Linked DNA regions of Homo sapiens: region 1 is linked to region 2. Evidence: promoter capture Hi-C in 16 types of primary human blood cells and fetal thymus (Javierre and others, 2016). All regions are on one chromosome and are shown on one strand. Each heading gives the region's core, a stretch centred on a gene start or on the middle of the fragment in contact. The rest is flanking DNA. Distances are from core to core; before and after follow the strand shown.

Region 1 (3,225 bases), core at 491-2,990, 2.8 Mb after region 2:
TCTTCAGGTACCCCTGAAGTAACCTGCTTCTCTCCCATTTCTTGCTTGTAGTTCTCGAGAAAAACTGTAGAATGTGCTGGGAATACAGTGTCCTGAGGCAGGGAGGGTCCTGAGCCTTGCTCCTGTCCCTCCTGGGGCATGTACCATCTTGAATTAGGAAGGAACTGCCCAAGACTGTCCTTGCCTTGCTCCTCTATTCCCTGGAAGTAGGGTGTCCTTTAAAGCTTTGCCCAGCAAGTCACATTTCCCTTGAGGTAAAGAACCCAGGGCAAGCTGCCTTTCAGTGTTCCTCAGCTGTGGTGCAAGTGGGACATGCACAGTCAGGCTTCATCTACCCTAAGCAGCTTTCTTGAGCCTGGGGACCAGCTCAACATGGATCCTAGGCTTCTGTTGTCCCTCACTGCCTATCTGTAAGTAATAAACCCTCCTGATATAACTTACTGCATGCATGATCTGTCTTACCAGACTGAGATGTGGATGACCAGTGCACAGTGAGCCTGCTTCACTATTACTTCCATTTCCTTGACCAAACAATGTAGAAACTACCCAGAGAATAAAGGGCCTGGAGAATGAATATCTACAACTACATCTGCATCCACATCCACATCTGCATCCTCATGTATATCTACATATGCATCCACATCTACGTCTAAATCTAAATCTGAGGCCCAGCCATTGTGGCTCACGCCTGTAATCCCAGCACTTTGGGAGGTCAAGGTGAGTGGATCACCAGAGGTCAGAAGTTCAAGACCAGCCTGGCTAACATGGCGAAACCCCATCTCTATTAAAAATATAAAAATTAGCCGGGTGTGGTAATGGGCACCTGTAATCCTAGCTACTTGGGATGCTGATGCAGGAGAATCACTTGAACCTGGGAGGCAGAAGTTGCAGTGAGCCGAGATGGCACCACTGCACTCCAGCGACAGAGTGAGGCTGCGTCTCAAAAATAAATAAATTAATAAATCTAATCCTGCCTCTGCATCTGCACCTGTATCTACATCACTACATCTGCATCGGTCTCTACATCTACATTACAACTACATCTAAATGCATCTAAATCTGCATCAACATCTGCGTCTACATCTACATCCACATCTACATTGGCATCTGCATTCAGATCAACATCTAAATGTCAGTCTGAATCTGTATCTACATCTACATAATCTACATCTGCATTCACAGTGGCATCTGCATCCACAGCCACTTCCACATCCGCATCCCTGTCTACATCTGCATCCGTGTCCACATCCGCATCCACATCTAAATCTAAATCTGCCTCTAAATTTAGACCTGTGTCTACATCTACATCTGTATCTGCATCTACGTCTGCATCTGCATCCACATCCACATCTACAGCTGCATCTACATCTAAATTTGTATCTACATCTGCATCCATTTCAGCATCAACATCTAAATCTAAATCTGAATCTTCATCTGCATTGCATCTGAGTCTCTCTGCATCTGCATCCTCATCTACATCTACCTCTGCATCCGCATCTGCATCAGTGAATACCTCTTCTTCTGCATCTACATCTGCATCTGCATCCACATCTACCCCTACATCTGCATTTGCATCAGCCTCCACATCTGCATCTACATATCTACACTTATGAACTCAGTGATATTAGCAAATTGCCTTCAGGTAGAGTCCCTATCATTTGCATTTTTCCACTAAATGGAGACTGACTTGACAGAGCCCAGGGGACCAATCTTGGTTAACTTTGCATCCTCACAGAGTCTAACACAAGACAGATACATAGGTGAGATGTCAGATGCTCAGTGTGTATTAAAGTGCTCCTGTTGGACACTATACATGACTACTTATAACTTGAAACTACTAAATTAGCATCTACGATTTGTGATTTTTGTTAACATCAGCTTTCAATGGTACACTTGAAGTACAGGAAGAAGCAACTCACAAAAAAATCAGGGACACTCTTATTGTTAGGGTTCCTGGGACAGTACCCCCAGTGAGAACACTGCATTGCACTTCAGCCCCATTCATTGTTCAATCAATGGGCATTTATTCAGACCATACCATGTTGCAGACATTGGCTAGCCACTGGGCATGTAAGGACAGAACAACACTGTTTCTGTTGCCAAGGGTCTCTGATCTAGTGATGGGGGAAAATAAGTAAAGCAGTGACAAGTACAGCTATGGGCTAGGAAAAGACAGCCCACAGAAGGAATATCTAAGCTGAAATTCAGTACAGAGTATGCATTAGCCAGGTGAACATAGACTAGGGGAATGAACAGATGGGAGGGATAGTCCAGGTAGAAAAACATCACAGGAAATAATCCAAAGGCAAGAGAGAGCAGGACAAACTCAAGGAGTTAATTTATGGAACTGCTCAATCTGTCTGTATCACAGATGAAGACAGGGGTTTTGGTTGAAGCTATGTGAGAGGGAAGTATGGTGTGAACACGGGGCCTTTAGCAGCACCCTGGGATGTGGGGATTCATCCTAAAAGTAATGGAAATGTTTGATGCATTTTACGAAACAGCGACTTAACGATTCGTACATTTTTTTGAAGGATATTTTTCTCTATATTATCAGGAAAGGGGTTAAAAGAGGGGAATACTGAAAGTAGTGAGACCAACTGAGAGGTTCTCAATATCCCCAGTAAAGGTGGACAGTGGCCTGACCTAGAGCAGGGCGGAGGGCATAGGGAGACACAGGTGCAGGAAGAAAAACCACAGGTCTGGTGACTGGATGGGGAATGAGGGGGAGGGAGGTGTAAGTGAGGCTTCTCACTTGAAAAACCAGCGAAGTGCTATCAGCGCAGAAAGGGGACAGGTAGCACTAAAGGGGGCAGAAGACAACAGGATCGATTCAGCGTGGGTGTATGTGCGGGACTTCCAAGGCACAGAGTACACTGCATGCCTGGGTCTGACACTGGGGAAGAAATGAGAGCAGAGGTTCTGGTTTGTGGCCAACACCAGAGAGACAGCCCATGAAGGCTTGGGACTTAGGAATATGGCTTGGAAGGAATGTGCAGGGAGAGAAAAGTAGACAGCATCAAGAGAGTATTGGACGGGGAGAGTGAGGGGCCTCTAGGGACAGCCACAGAGTAGATAGTCAATACATCTTTGCTCAGTTTAACAGTTAATTCAAACGTTAAAAACAACCCTGTGACAAAGGGCTTTCAAACCTTCTTCAGAGCCAATAGTGAAAATTTAAAAAATATATTCATGAGAATGTACTGCACACAACAACAACAATAA
Region 2 (3,023 bases), core at 123-2,622:
TATGAATGCAAGATATTTTTATATTTTTGTATTTTATATATTTTATATTATTTATATTTTTTGTATTTTATATTTTGAACTGCAAACAAGGCACAAACCTGCAGGTCTTGTCTATGTCCTCCAAATCACAGGCACTGCCAAGAGCATAGTGATTGTTGGGATTTAAAGGAATAAATTTCGTTTTTTGGCTTTATTGGTATACTTGGACAATAAAAGTCATGTGAACAATGTCAAATGTAAAGTTTAAAATAAATCATTCTTGTTCATGGAGATTAGTTTTGTTTTTTAGATCTTTTTACATTTTAATCTCCCCAAAATCACATATTTAGATATGAACATTTTGCCAAAAGAGGGCAGTATTCGCCTACAGTAGAATGTAAAGGGACTGAAACATTTCTGCAGAGACAAGGATGAACTTATTTTCCTCTTAAGATTGGTCTACTAGTCTGATCATCTGGGATTGACCATGCAAGTTTTAATTTGTTTTCTATTACTTTTATGGATTTAAAACATTTTTGTTTGAAAATGTTAGTCTTTAAAGATAAAGCCAAAAATCTGTTTAAAAATACCTGCTTACAGAATGACCAAAAAGTAGATGTTTTCATATTTATTAAGTTTTCAGACACGTCCTCAACGAGGTGCTGCTCACTTCAGGGAAAGATGGCCAGTTCAAACTGCTGATGAAAAGTCTGCAACCAGCAAGACCACTGCTGCCAGTGTGTCCTGAGGGAGCTTGCATCTGTTTGACTTTACATATACATACTTAGGTTTGTCCATCAGTTGTATCCTCTTGAAGGAGGTATGTGAGTTCATGGTTTTAAGCATATAAATTTAAACGTTAAAAGAAGAAATCAGAAGTAGCCCGTTTGAGTCTTACATGAGTGAAATGTGTTGGGTTTCAGCAGCAGAATATATAGAAGGAAATGAAACAATTTTTATTAAAGAGCATAGTTTGGAATAAAGAAAGAATATGTGCACCTAGATGAACGAATTAGAACTCTGCCTGCCCTTTAGGGTTTGGTAATGTTACCAGATAAAAAAGAAGAAAAGCTGTTCTGCATTGTTTCAATACATTCTTAATCAACTTGGGCTTCAAGAGGACAGCTGGAGGCTAAGAGGTCGGGTTTTTCATCAAATGCGCAGTGGAAGTAATTTTGGAAAAGTTTGTTTGCATTATGCTGCCTAAAACACGGTGTTTTAGAAAGAGGCTTTTGCATTGAAAAGCTTCTCGTCCTCGCCTCTGGGAGTCTAGTGCTTCCTAGAGCTGCTTGTGCCCTCAGCCCTGTAATGTGATATCCCTCCTCCTGGATTGGTCAGAGGGGTGTCCTTTCCCTGGGAGCTGCTTTCCACCACGGCTCCCAAACTTGGCTCAGTCCAGCAGCCACCATCACCACCACTGCGGTTGCTGCTGCAGCTGCAGCTGCTGCTCTCCCTCCGGCTGCTTCTTCGCGTGGCCAGCAGCGAATGGAGCGATGGAGCCCAGACTGTTCTGCTGGACCACTCTCTTTCTCCTGGCCGGGTGGTGCCTGCCAGGGTTGCCCTGCCCCAGCCGGTGCCTTTGCTTTAAGAGCACCGTCCGCTGCATGCACTTGATGCTGGACCACATTCCTCAGGTACCACAGCAGACCACAGTTCTGTAAGTTCACATAAATTCCCCAGAAACCCTCTTCCCCAATGCTTCATTGCTTCTCTGCTAGGACCTGTGTCCTTTTAATTTACGATTCCTAATGCTCTCCCTGCTTGTATACTTAGAAGAGGCTTTTCACTTTTCAAACAATTTCATGGTTCTGCTCTGTTAGACTAGAAAATGTAAGCAATGATGAGTTGACATAAATATATTTGTTTTGGATTCAGTTCTCTTCCAGCATCTTCCAGAACTTAGCATTGAGAATTCTCGTCTTCATTCTTCCTTCAATAATTTTCCTGCATACTTTCTCAATTTATTCCTATTCATCCTCTACTCCCAAGTCTTTGGGCCTCTTAATTGGTCAGCACGTGTCTGCCCCATTTGGAAGGAACTAATTTAACTTTAGAGTGTGGTTTCAATTGATTATGTGCTGACAAATTGTTAGGCTTTGTACTGTGTGTACCTCCTGGGAGGGTGAAGTCCTGAGCCCTCAGCACTTGAAGCACTGTCTGTCTCCAGAACAGACCCTCAAATGGTCCAGTAGAGTTCTTGAATGCTTAAAAGCCTTGTGGAGCAGCCGCTTAGACTAATCGGCATCTAGGAGGCATTACGGGATAGTAGGGCAAACCAGAATTTGGAAGTCAAACAGGTCTGAGTTCAAATCCTATCTTCTCATCTTTAATATTCAGATAATAAACCCAAACATTTAGATTTATTTAGATTAAATTAAGTCATAATTAGATAATTAGAAGGGCAAATCACCACAAAAGAAGAAAAGGATCTGTTTCTAGGGTCTATTTTTAAAGAAAGAAAAAGACGACAAATTCAAAAATTTAAGAAAAAATAAAAGAAGAAAAGGAAAAATGCTGAAAGATGCAGACTAAAGAGGTTTCCTGCTCTATAATAAATATTTTGTGGGTTGTGTCATGTTCATGGAAGACAAAACTGCTTGCAGTGTTTCAAGTCCATTCTTGGGCAGAGGGAAATAGCTTAAAATTCCTGGAATTTTGAGATATAAATGTTTAAGAGGATCATTGCCACACATTTGTCAGTCATAATCGTGAAATGAGGACTTGGTAATAAAAAGTCCAATTTGATGGTATTTACATAGAAAATGACATATTATCCATAGATTTTCATTTCTATAAAGCATTTCATTAATTTTATATGCATGCAGATATCAAAATACGTCTTACTGTAATAACTGAAAGGATTCTTGAACTTGGGAGCACTGCTTATTGCTATGTGGACAGCACAGTTCTGCAAGTGCCTTCAGACTCAGAACCAGCCATTTGTCCTTTTGTAATGACAGTTTTTTGGTAGATAGCAGCAAAGCCTTGGAGAAGGGGCTGCTTGTCTAATGAAGTATCTTGGAGCTACATGAGGTACAACTCGA

Evidence for each region. Contacts are between HindIII fragments. The CHiCAGO score rates a contact against its expected background, and 5 or more counts as called.
Region 1: a contact is called between a fragment that was not itself captured here and the fragment with the promoter of PXDNL in region 2, in 1 of 17 cell types (total B cells). The highest score is 9.4, in total B cells.

What each region holds. Positions count from the first base shown.
Region 1 is chr8:48,972,584-48,975,808 of GRCh38, reverse strand. No RefSeq gene overlaps it. Among named protein-coding and RNA genes, the nearest start is that of SNAI2, 53 kb to the right of the region's middle. The HindIII fragment of the contact is 3,028 bases long and covers 227-3,225 here.
Region 2 is chr8:51,807,794-51,810,816 of GRCh38, reverse strand. It overlaps PXDNL (peroxidasin like), which reads left to right and starts at 1,372. Exons shown (of 23, transcript NM_144651.5): 1 at 1,372-1,636. The coding sequence starts at 1,473. RefSeq lists enhancers at 955-1,476, 1,477-1,999. The HindIII fragment of the contact is 1,936 bases long and covers 1,227-3,023 here.